Linked DNA regions of Homo sapiens: region 2 is linked to region 1. The links are contacts of gene promoters, found by promoter capture Hi-C in human tissues and cell types (Jung and others, 2019). All regions are on one chromosome and are shown on one strand. The core of a region is centred on a gene start or on the middle of the fragment in contact, and the rest is flanking DNA. Distances in the headings are between cores, read along the strand shown.

The links. Contacts are between HindIII fragments. The study calls those that stand out against the background at their distance.
Region 2: a fragment that was not itself captured here is called in contact with the fragment with the promoter of EBF2 in region 1 in 1 of the 25 tissues and cell types used here (dorsolateral prefrontal cortex).

The regions. Positions count from the first base shown.
Region 1 is chr8:26,041,867-26,048,446 of GRCh38, forward strand. It overlaps EBF2 (EBF transcription factor 2), which reads right to left and starts at 3,547. Exons shown (of 16, transcript NM_022659.4): 1 at 2,863-3,547; 2 at 229-385. The coding sequence starts at 2,993. RefSeq lists a silencer at 1,467-1,761 and an enhancer at 6,063-6,580. The HindIII fragment of the contact is 15,996 bases long and covers 1-6,580 here.
Region 2 is chr8:24,896,425-24,902,716 of GRCh38, forward strand. No RefSeq gene overlaps it. Among named protein-coding and RNA genes, the nearest start is that of NEFM, 14 kb to the right of the region's middle. The HindIII fragment of the contact is 6,177 bases long and covers 1,802-6,292 here.

The sequences.
Region 1 (6,580 bases), core at 2,297-4,796:
GGCTCGGTGCGCAGAGCCGGGAGCGCTCCTCCAGCTCCAGGTTGGGGGAGTCGGGGTGGGAGGAGGTTCGGGAAATCGACTGATTTAGAGGCTGGGGGTGAGTAGCCTCGATTTATCATCCCTGATGGTGAGAGTGGAAAAGTGTCGCGAGAGTGACAGATGGAATCTTTAGTGCTTCGCAAGAGGGAGTTATTAGGCCGCGGGGTTTGGGGGGTACTTTCCGCTTACTTTGTCATTCTCCACAAAGTCCACGAAGGCCGTCCGCTCGATCTCCACCGGCTGGCCCTGCCTGTCATAGAGCGCCAGGACGAAGTGAAAGAAGTTGGATTTCCTCAAGTTGGAAGGAGGCTGTTTCTCAAAGTGGGCCCGGGACAGGGCGACCCCGCTGCACAGGGAGAAAAACGGGGGAACACAAGACACGGGGAAGCACAAAAAGGCGATGTTACTAACCGCCCACAACACTGCAGAGGGGTAAGGGGTCCACTTCCCAGGTCCAGAGTTCTGAACCCTTCGGGCCTTTTTTCCAATTCGGATAAGGAAGAGGAGACTCCTTAAAGGAGTCACCGTGGCCACGGGGGTTGGGTGGCAGGGTTGATACCTGGGGTCTCTGACACCACCAAGTGGTCCGGCATCCCACCGCTGGGCCACTCACCATCCCGTCTTTAGTCGAAACCGAAAGACCCCGGCTGCAGACAGAGGCCCAGAGTGGTCCCCTAAGGAGGTGGCCCGCGTCCTATACCGTGGGGCTGTCTCCATCCACTCCCTCAGGTGGTACTGCTGGGTGTATCAGGATGCAGAGCTGGGGCCCAGGGTTAGGGGAATAAGTGCCTCCTTTGCTTTGGAAGAAGCGACCCTTTTATTTAGTATTAATTCGAGTTATCAGTCCTGGACCCACTGCTCACAACGCCCAAATGCTGACTGGGAAAGGTAGTGGGTAAGAACCCCAAGGGGCAGGCGGGAGAGTAACACAGAGTCCAGGTCTGGGTCCTTGGGCTGCTTGCCTCGCTCTTCCGAAAAGTTGTGCCTGGGACAGAGACAGGGCGGAATCCTCGCGACCAGCCCCGGGGATCGCTGGCCACCACAAATGAGATGACCGACATAGGGGGCCCTCCCTCCCAGAGGTGCTAGGTGGGGAAAAGCCAAACTGTTAAAAGGCGAGAACCTCCTTTCCTGGGGCCAACGCGATCCCCACTCATGCTGCGTTTTCTGGCGGCGCCAGCCGAACCCAGTGACTGTGAAACCCAAGTTGGGGGACCCGGAAGGCGCCCTCGAGCGTGCTGAGTGTGTGCACACGCTTCCCAGCCAACCGGTCGCAGTCACAGCCCACCTGGCCATCAGATCCCATTTCACCGAAGACTTGGGGCTGAGGTGAACGCACAGATTGCGGGAGCTGCCCTGCGGCGCTGGGGTCTCCCAGGTTGAACCCCGGTGCGCAAGCACCTTCATTCACTCTTTTGAAAGGGGTAACATTTTGGCTAAGCTCTCCCCCACTAAGTCTGCTCCTTCCAGCTTCAACAAACTTTTTGATCCCGGGAAGGAAGGAAAGCGAGGGAGGCGTCTTTAAGGAGCCCAGCTAAGGAAATGCGCGGCACAGTTGGCTCTGCGGTGCTGCCTTATTTCCCTTAGCTCGCAGGCGGGCCAGTCCCGAAGCGCTGCGGAAAGCCGCGGCCGCCGCGCTGTGCGGTCTGCCGGAGGGAAATCCGCGCTCCCCGGGCCACAGGAGGGAGGGAACCGCCGCCGGCCCAAGTCCCGGAGCGATAAAACTTCTGCTTTCTCCGCTCCAAGGGTAGAGGCCGGTTCGCTCTACCCGGGACACCTGGCCAGTTTGGGAAAGGGATCATTTCTCCGTGTGATGTTGGCACTTAAATGTGGGTGGCCAGGAGGGCAGCAGGGGAAGCGAGGGTAGTGGAAGAAGTTCATCGGCTCTTTGGGGGTAGAAGGGCTGCCTCTCTCGCAGACAAGGACCTGGAGGCCACAAATCCCAACTCAGTAGTGGTGATGAGAGAGTGGGACCGTAATGTCTTCGTAGGGTGGCACCCCGGACATGGTATTTACTATCCCAGCACGCAGACGCCTAAACACAAAGTCAACTTCAGGGATCCGCAAAACCAGAGGCTGGCGATCCCTGAGCCAGTCTAGCTGCTGGTGGCCTTTTCTCGCCTCTTTCTTCTTCCGCAACTCTTTCTACTGTGACTCAGTATTTTCTCTTCTTTTAAATCTCTTCTTTTCTCCAGTTCCCTAGCTCCGTTCGTCTGGCTCACTGTTTTATCTTTGAGCCGGGACCCTCCAGCCTGTCCCCCCTCCCAGAGCTCCCGGCCGCCTCGTCTTCCCGGGCAGCCGCTCCGGCTTTTCCCGCTCCCCTCGCCGCCGCCACCCTCTGGCCGCCGGCCTCCCAGGCTCCAGGAATCGCCCAGCAAGATGCGGGAGGTAGGCGCTCGCAGGCGGCGTGGCGAAGCCAAGAGTGGCCAGGAAGCCGGCTTTCCTCCCGCGCCGCCACTGCCAGCGCCGGTGTTCACGCTCCGTTCGGGGCCAGGCCGGCTCGGCTTGCAGGACTAGGGGCTGAGCTGGGAGATGTTGGGGGCTACTTTATTTTTCCTTGCAAAGAGTGGACTGTGGTAAAGGAGAGGGAGAGAAACGCCTACGACCCAGGCAGTTCAGGAACTCGAGTGCCGGCTGCCGGGTGAGCGTTCGCCTGACTGCAGCGATCTGCTTGCCCGAGGGCGAGCCCCAGCGCGCAGGGCCTGGGCGACAGATGGGGGGACAGGGAGAGAGAAAGGCACGGGGTGCGCGGGGGGGGTGCACACGGAGAGACAGACCGTAAGAGCGAGAGACAGCATAATAATTGCGCGGCCGTGTCGTTACCTCTGCGCGGCGACATTAGCGTCCACCACTCCGACATTCCGGACCCAGGACCTGACCGAATCCATCTCCGCGCCCAGCGATTTCTCTTTCAGAGTTGGTCCTCTTCCTAAAGTATCTTGAATTCCAAACATTTAAAAAGTCTGATCCTCTACTGTCGCTTTAAAAGTAAGAGTTACAACACAGTCCTGACTGTTCCCAACGTTGCCAGCAAATCGTCTCCTCCAAAGCAATCCAAGAAAAGGGATCAAGTGCCCAAGTTTGAGTCTTAGAAAAAAAAAAAAGATAACCCGTCCTTTGCTTCACTGGCGAGGTGCGGACTGATGTAGTCAAAGTTTGGGTTCTTATCCTCCGCAAGTTCAGATCTGCCGCCTCAGCCACTCCACCCTAGGTCGCTCGCATCCTTCCAGCTGCAGTGCTGCCTCCTGAAAGTGATCACAATTTAGAAGCATCACCTGTTCTGGGAGAAACTGGAGGAAATTGATGGCTGCCTAATCTCTCCCCTTCCTCCAGGTCCCCCCTCCCTGCTCCTCCCCACCGTTCCAATTTAGAAAAAAAAAAAATCCCCAACAGGATCAGTTGTAAAAAGAAGGGGAAGACCTGGAGCCGAGAGGAGGCGGTGGCTGCGAGCGCCACGGAGCCCGGCTGCAGCCGCGCGCGGGCCCCATGAATGGGTTACTACGGCCCTGGCTGCGGGAGGCGGAGCTGCGGCCCGATAAGGAGCCTCATTTGCATGGACGCGCGGGATTGGCCGGCGCCTGGCAAGCCGGGCCGACGTCCTCCGGCGGCGCGCGCCACGCTCTGCGTTGCCGGGACTCCGGGAGGTGAAAGGGGACAGAAAGCTGCGGGCGTCGAGTCCTAGCACGAACCCCGTGTGCTTGCGCAGGATTGGGGGGCCCCCACACCCTGCACTGACTTAGGGTAGCAGGTCTCTGCGGGCTGGGGACGCAGGGGTTCGGCCTGGCTGCGGGAAGCCTCCCTGGATCCTGCCTCTAGATGTAGGCTTTTGTAGCCTGCCGGGAGGCACGTTCGTTCCCGGGGTTCGGATCTGTGTGCATGCTTGTGAGCGTGGCCACATGTGCTTATGTTTTGCGCAAACGTCCCCCAGAGCACCCAGCTCCCTGAATGGCTCCCCAGGTCTCCTGGAGTTCCATGGTGATATCAGATGTTGTGTGCGGCTTGCACGTTGCTGAGAGTGGAGAACATATGAAAGAAGGCGGGGGATGGGGTGGGGCGGACAAGCGAGGGGCAAGTGCTGCTCAAATACAGTGCTGGGGAAAACGGTCCAGGACCTAAGGAAAACACCCGCGGGCGGGCGGGCGCGAGCGGCAGTCGCACCCGTGTGGAGGAGAGGTTGCTGACAGATCGAGGCGGGCTGAGTGCGCGAGCGGCCGGGGAGTATTCCCGCGGGTCCTCCGGTTCCCTCCCCACCTCTCCGTTCCCGAAGCCCCCGGTAGTGGGCGGGGAGGGACGGGGGAGTCGTGGAAACTTCGCCCACCGCGCGCGGTCGCCGCGGTGCTGGCCGCGGGCTGGTGGCCGGCAGGCGGTGGCAGCAGCCTCACCGAACAGCTGAAACCCTAGACGGTTTTTTAACTGCGCGGGGCTGCTCGCGGTGCCTATTAAACATCCTCCTGGCTGGGTGTCATTTTCTTGCTTCTCCTTTTGTATTCTGATCTGCGCATAGATCTGCTGCTGCTGAAATCTAGAACACCAGCGCGAAAACAGATTTGAAGACAATGAATGCAAATCTGTGCTCAAAGACCATCTGCCGTGGAGGAGACAATCAGCTGTTCGTAGTTCGAGCGATTGCGCCCCAGTCTCCCGGTCTCATTACGGGGAGGGCATTTGCGAGCGCCTGGACTGCGTTCAGGGCACTTTCTCCCCTCTTGGGTCTCAGATTTGAGAGACCAGATCCCTTAGGTGTAGGTGAGCGCTCGCAAATGAACTGCTAGAGTTTGCCGCTAGAGGACACAGCGCCTTGCAACTGGTTTGCCTAGGCTGACAGGAAGCTTGCACTTCAAGAAAACTCGGCTCTCTCGAGAAAGGGACCGGTGCGCGCCTCCACCTCCCCAAGGGACAAACCGCGGCACCACGCTGCGTGCGCGGGATTGCGACTAGGAAGTGCTGGTCCGAACTGCGGAGATTCGCTTGAAAACGGATAGGGGGTTAGGGAGTTTGCGGGGCGGGTGCACGGACCGTCTCTGCACAGGCCCCGGGATCCAGGGACTGGGGTCATTGATTTGGGGGAAGGTAGAGAAGGTAAACCCCCCGCCTCTGGGTTGTGTTGACTGTGGTACCCCGACCCCAGAGCTCTGGCTTGGTCCTCCCTGTTGGACTGGAAGGGGCGGGAGAGCCATACAGGGCGATTGGGAAATGGATCGGGTGGCTAGTAAAAGCCAAGTAAGACAGGAGTGTCCAAAGGAAGAAGGGGGTAGGGAGGGAAATTTGTAGGGATGAGATTCACTGCCCTGTTTCAACTCGGCAATTCTCTGTTACATGCAGGTTTTACGGAGAATTTCGGTCCCAGCAAAAACTGATCACCTGGAGTCTTCTACGGTCTCTCTTTATAAATCTCTCCGAACCTCAAGCAACTCCCCCCCACCCCCTTCGTCTGGGGTCTGCGCCCAGCGGGGCCAAAGCCTTGAGTTCCTTGGCAGAGAGTGTGGAACAGCCGTGAGCCCTTCAAGACATGCCTATGAGCCCGGTGATTTTTTTTTCAAGGGGGCTTTGATCAGCTGTACCTCCACGTTGCCCCGGAAAGGTGCGCAGGGCACCCGGAGAGGCCTCTGGTCAGCAGTGGGCCTGGGCCAAGCCCCAACAGTTTACCCCTCAGGCTCAGGTTGGCTGGGGTTAAAGGGCAAAGTCAGGGTCGAGGGCACCAGCTTTTCTCGGCGGTAACAGCTGCCACCCAAATTATGCCCCCTCAGGAAGCGAATGAATTGTTCCTTTCTCCCAGCTCCCTGCTGCCCGCCCCAAAACAGACGGGGCCGCGCTCGGCGGGCGCCCCTCCTCCCAGCCAACCCCCCGAGACGCGCTCAGGGGCCTCGGTGCCCCGCTGGGAGGCAATTTGGGGGAGCCGTGGTCCCGAACTTTGACAGAGTGGGGCTTCCCCACTACTTGCCGGCTGCGCTAAGGGCGCCCCCCGCGGCAGTGCTGCTGGGAGCTCCAGGGATGGCTGTGTGGCTCGCTGCGGGCGTTGAAGTTCCCTGTTGGCCAGGCTGAAGTGCCTGCGCGAGCGTGAGGGGACAAGGACTGCCTTGGGCCCAGCGTGGCGGCGTTTCGGCCAACCCAGTTGGGGTTAATTGCGTCTGTATAGGTTTTGGGTAGGAATGCTCGCGGAGTCCGCCACCCGCGCGAAACATGCGTTGGTTGGGGGAATGAGCAGCGGCGGCTGCGCCTGGAGGGTTGCTCCCACCTCTGTCGCCTCCAGCTACCCCCAAACAAACCTCCTTTTCGATCTCGTGCAACACAAAACCTGCCCCGAGCTGTGCGGGGGCCTGGCAAGCGCAGCTGCGGCCCCGGGAAGCCCAATCCCGCGGGACTGCGGAGCCCACGCGCTCCTCAGGCTCCGGCCAACTAGCTCGGTTCTGCCTCTAGCCCGGGTCAAGAAAAATCCAAAATGAACACTATGATTAAAATTATTCACAATCTATTTATACAAAACTGGGGGTGTCTGTCTTTTACCCTGTCCCCTTCTTCATTTACCCTTCCCAAATGACCC
Region 2 (6,292 bases), core at 3,640-6,139, 1.1 Mb before region 1:
AGAGTATAATTGTAAAAATCGTGCCTAGGAGCCAGGAAGTCTGAATTCTAGGTTTAACTCAAATGCTAAGAAGCAAGTTCTGGCCTTTTGGAAGATCAGAACTTTGCTATGGCCCGTTTCCTTACCTGTGAAATTATAAGTTCAGACTAAATAATATATATTAAGACCCCTTCCACCTCTCAATTGTCATTATTCTGTTCAATAAATCAGGCTTTTTACAAATTAAGATTTGTCTGTCTTCAATGAGTGTGAGGAGAAGGTGAACTAGGCTTTGAACTCCTGGGGGTTGAGACGTCTTTACTCAAGTCTGCATCTCCGGCTCCTCTCACGGTGCCTGTCACAGAGCTGATTCAATAAATATTTGATAAATAAAGGGTTTCTATGGCTCTGATATTTATAGCAAAAAGAAAACTGAGAAAGAAAGCCTGGTGCTTTCCTTTCTCTTTTCTTTTTTTTTACATATGAGCAAAGTGGCCTTGGAGACTGTACTTACAGGTGCCCATAGCTGACTGTGCATAGCAGAAGAATGTGAATTCATACACCTCTGTCTGTCTTTCACCCCACCACATACATGCTGGTTCTCTTCCATCACATACTGCACTGCACTCCTCACACTGCAACTTAGAAGATAAACAAAAGTGGGTGTCAAATAAACAAAGTCCCATCTCTGGAATTAGGAGACAGGCATTTGGATTCCAAAATCAACTGTTTTCTAGGTAAATACACCTGAACAAGTCATTTAACGTTTCCATTTTTTCACGTACAAACTGAGACCAGATGATCTTGAATCTATTTTCTTAATGCTGCCAAGAGCCTATGATTTGGCCAGACAAAGCATTCTATGTGGATCAGAGGCATAAATGGACAAGCCCTGCTAATATCAAGAAGAGGGTTTTCCCCTAAAAAAAAAAAAAAATTCAGAAAACGTAGAAGAACATCAAGAAGTTGATTATTCAGGCTGTCTTTTGCATAAAGAGACTAGGAGTGGGCAGGTCATTCTCTGTCCCTGTTGACATAGATACTGTCGGTGGACTGTCTTGACACACAGTGTGCCGGTCCCAAATCTGCCTTGATGCTGAGGACATTTTTGTTATCTGACAGATACATCTTGAGTGAAGTCTAGGAAGAAATGTTATCTATGTAACGACAGGACTAGACCACAGATTTGATGGTAGGAAAACTAGGAAGGGAAGCATCAAATAGGATACCCAGATTTCAGACAAGAATGATGGGAAAATGATGGTGACATGAATAGAGAAAGGAAGAGTGGTGAGAGAAGACCAAGAGTTTGGTTTCAGATATTTGAGTGCTACTGATCAGCAGATCATCCTGGAGAAGTCTTAAGCAGTTCAAGGTCAAAATTTAGTACTCAGGGTCCATTTATCCATAAAGACGTAAAAGCTCTTACAACTTAATGTCTGTAATTTACCATCTTACAAAATGAAAGTAGGCTTCAAACTAGTAAACTGAATTCCAGAACATACACCAAGCTATGTGCCCCCTGTATATCCAGATCTACCCAGGTACTGGTCTGTATTTTACCCACGTTGGTAGACTCATTCCTCTCACTCAACCTCCTAACCCCTTGATCACCTAAAAAGGAGAAGTCAGAGTACATAAATCTTGTAGCTTTGGGGGCTTATGCAACTTCAGTGGTTTTTAAGCTCATCATGCTGTGGGAATTCTCAGATGATCTCCCAGCCCAGTGACCCTCCGGAAAATGGCATAATCCTAGGATGAGAGAAGCAACATATGAAAATCAGCAGATTTTCAGAACAAAACTGACCATGTGGGTTTGTGGCCAAATTACACTTGAGCATATCGACCCAGCAGGCATAGGATAATTCCACCCACCAGCCTCCGCACAGAGACTGCAGAAGTGCAAAGGAAAAATGGCTTCAGTGAGGGAGGAATGGACGTGCTCCAATAGATGAATGAGTGAAGGTAGCACTCACAAACTAGAGAAAATGCCCACGCACCTCTTCCCAGCCCACCCTTATATCCACACCAGCCCCCAAATACACACACTCACCCATCTGATCATGTCACTTGATCCAGATAGAAGACTTGAGCAGGGGTGGGGCTAGGCTCCGGGCTTATAGGAAGGAACCAGAAAAATACAGACTGTGTTTTATTTTTGTCATGCTAACTCCAGAGTATTCCCCAGATTGGCGTGAACTGACGAATCCACAAGAAAAATCATATATGTGAGAAAAATGTGTTCCAGTTCCAGCTCTTTGGTTTACTAGCTGTGACACATTTCTTGGAGCCTATTTTCTTATCTCTAAAATGGGAACAACAATACTGGCCTTACAGTGTCAACTGGAGGATTAAAGCAAATCTACATAAAGTGTCTCAAACATGATTGACCTTTCTATATATTGCTCCTAGCTGGAGTTCTCCACCTAATGATATCACAATGTCGTCTCCACTGTGGCTTCTTCAGAACAGAGGTTAAGTAACATTTGTTTCTAATTTTCCAATGATGACCACACTGTCTAGCATACTGTAAGAGAAAATGGGATAGCATTTGCTTTGAACTGTAGAAGGACTCTATACTTAGTCACTTTTACATTCTGAAAAAGAAACAACCCTTCATTGACAATCAGAAACTTATCTGACAATATTCAGATTTAAACTTTTTAACTTCCAGCCCTTCACCCTGGGGCCTATGGGAAAAACCCACAGCTCCCAGCCCAACATATTAATCATTATAGGACTCCAAGGAATGGTAACTGACTGTTTGACTGAATGAATAAATGAGCGAGTGAATTAAAAAACAATTATGTGAGGCAGTTTATTAAGATGAAATTGACAAAAATCACGGAGTGATTTGAGCAGTGAGGTGGCTCAAATTACAAATAACCATGTTTTGGAACAATTTTTATTTTAGTGACCTAATTGGTACAAGGCAAAGAAAGGCTTTAGGCACTAGAAAAAAAATGAGGTAATTTTTAAATTGTAAGAACTACAAGTTATCCCAAAATATGATGAACAATGACCAAAAGTGAAACCAGAGGAATAGTACATGAAAGGAAATAATTATCTTCTTATAAACTAGATGGAAAAGAATGGGATAAATAATAATGTTTCAGGATCTTTCATTAGGTTCCAAGGAGAAAGGTATCAACGTTTCTGGGGGTAAATTTTCTACATTGTGATTTTTAATGAGGTATTTAGTTAGCATTACCCCAAGAGATACTCCTGTATTTTTAGCAGCCTTTTATTCACCCACTTAAGAAAATGCTTCTTTTTAATTCAAATGTAGACTTCTCCTCTTAAAATAGTTTTTTAGAGCAAGATAATTTTCATCTACCTAGAACCGTTTTGTTACCATTACGCCTAGAGTCAATTAATCTTTCAAAGGCCTTTTCTGCATCCTCAGACTCCACATTTTCCTTTATCAATTGAAGCAGAGCAAATCAGGAGCTAAGAAAAAGTAGGACCCGGACAGGAGCGATGGCTCACGCCTGTAATCCTGGCACATTGGGAGGCCAAAGTGGGTGGATCACGAGGTCAGGAGTTCAAGACCAGTCTGGCCAACATGGTGAAAACCCGTTTCCACTAAAAATACAAAAAAAAAAAAAAAATAGCCGGGCGTAGTGGCACATGCCTGTAATCCCAGCTACTCAGGAGGCCGAGGCAGGAGAATAGCTTGAGCCCGAGAGGCAGAGCTTGCAGTGAGCCGAGATTGTGCCACTGCACTCCAGCTTGGGTGACAGAGCGAGACTCTGTCTCAAAATCAAAAACAAAACAAAAAAAAACTAGGACCCAAGAGTGGGTTCCAATGCTGCTCACTCAAATCTCTTTTACATTAAGGTAGCTTTAAAATGCTTTCACCAATATGGCTCACAAAAGCATCGTCACTGGCAAAGAATCTGAGTGCTTCCAAATCACTTTAGAAATACAAAATGTGATGTAAATGCTTAATTAGAAAAAGTTACATGTGACACAGTTGCTATTTTTACTACCTGTCTATCAAGAGCCCACGCAGATTTGTCTAAAATAGCAGAGTTACAGGCCAAGAAGAAATCAGTCAAGATATCAAATGCTGCACTTTGATTTCAGAGGCAATGCGTGATTGGAACCCATTACGACTGTCCTTGACACTCAGGAATGAGGCAGATTCCTTGAGAGAAACCACTAGTTTTTAAGGCGTCCCCTCTTAGTCTTCCTCTGAAAACTGAGGTTCAAGCTGTCCACAATGGTCCCTAGCAAACATCAACACTCACCAAAGTACTTCCTCCTTTTTTCTCTTCCTCTGTGCAAACCAGCTTAGAGTAGATACAATGCATGATTTCAACTCCAGCTCAGCAGCAAGGGAAAATCAAAAGGGCAATCGATGTAATTGATGGGTGCCTGTAATGCCCAGCTTGTGGTATATACAACACCTCAAGATAAGCAAATCCAAAAGGTCAAAGTCAACTGTTTTCCACATATTGATTGGAAAAGATCAATTACTTTCCAGTTTACCATCTGGTCACCAAACATTAATTGGCCATTGACTATGTAAATGAAATGCAGAAATGCATAATTATCCCCGTGATTGTTTCTAGTTAAAATGTATTTTATAAAGGTGATGTGGCTGTATACAGCCTTCATAATACAGGGGACAAGCAGAAATATGGAGAGAATCCAGAAGTGCCATTGTCAACAATTAATTCTAGTGCAAGCCACATACCTGGAGGGCCACAATTCCAGGCTCTTGCCAGCTTGTTTTTAGACTACCTGACCTACACTTCGGGACTTAGGAAAGAGTTCCCAAGTGATATCATAGAGAAGTCTGATCAGGACATCAGGAATCCAAAATCTAAACTTAAGCAAACCTAACCATGTTATTAATAAAAAACAAGGAAAAGGGTCAAAACCCTCTGTTTCCTCTGAGTCTAGGAAATCACAGCTCTAATGTGCTCTTTGATTTTGTTTAATTCGATATGTCTATTTATAAGACGTGTACATTGCATGTTATTTTTATACCCAGTGAGAAGAGGAAAGTGGAAAAGGATAAAGCAGCAGTAAGAAGAGGTCCTTGCCTTTAAAGAGCCTAAAGTTTAATTGCAGGAACAAGATTTCTTTGCATATGCAATATAAAACAATACGAGCTGGGATAATTACCAAATCACATGATGCCAACTACATGCTGGGAGAACTTAAGAGGAGAGAGGAGGCAATGAAGTCTTCCTGAGAAAGCAGAAATGGAGCTGTGGTCTAGTGGGTAGAATCTGGATAGGGGGTGAGTAATGGATGAAACATTCAAGAAGAACAGAGTGCCATAATATCGGAATTCTAAGCATGCCCTCTGGCCCAATCAATTCATTAAAATCTCATTTTCTGAACCCAGATATAGTGGACGCATTTCCAACTAGAACCCCAAGATGACCACACAGTACAAAACAGGCCACCTCCCCACCAGGATCAGTACACAAAAGAAGAATAAGCTTCTTTGTTCTTTTAGCCACTGTAATATTGGGTCTCTCGTTAATCAGCTTAGCCTTTTTACCCAACTAATGCAAGATCTCACTTAGTCTTTGAAAAAGCAGTTTCATTTAAGTAGAATAGATATCATCTCCCATTAGGCAGATGAGCAAACTAAGGCCAAGGGAAGTTCAAGGTCACGGAACCTTCTGATGCTGTCCTGTTCACTGATTCCCAGAGTCTTAGTCTTTGCCTTTGGTAACTTTGTCACTTCTTATTTCTGACATTGTGAACAGAAGAACCATTTAGATTTAAGTGTTGATGGAAATTTGACAGGGTTGAATTTCACATTTCAAATATAGAATCCTGAACCTAGATTTTAAATTAGCTGCACATAGCAAGTGGTTTTCATAATTATTGGTATTACACATTTGTTACCACTGCAAAATTTAAAGGAGCACGAAAGATGTAATTGCAACACACAGTTCTGGAACCCAGGGCAGAAATGTTTGGCATTGGGGGTAATTTACACCTATAATGTAATTAAACAGGAGGTAATTTGCATCCAGATTTGCACATTACTGTATTTTTTTCTGATTATAAAAATAAAATAAAAAAAACTCTGGCAAGCACAGGAGGTTTTGGAGTGTTCTGACAATTAGTATTTTAGACAAATGACATGAGGAAGAGGACTTTCTAATCCTTCTGGATCCTTAGCAATTTGCCAAAAAAAAAATAAGCTGTCTGTCAGATATTTTCACATGAAACATGTTGTGAAAAATAACTATTTTCCCTCCACACTATTTTTGCTAAAATGTATTTATTGTTTCTCTCTGATTCTCATCTATTGATAGGATCTGCCTATAAATAAAAAACA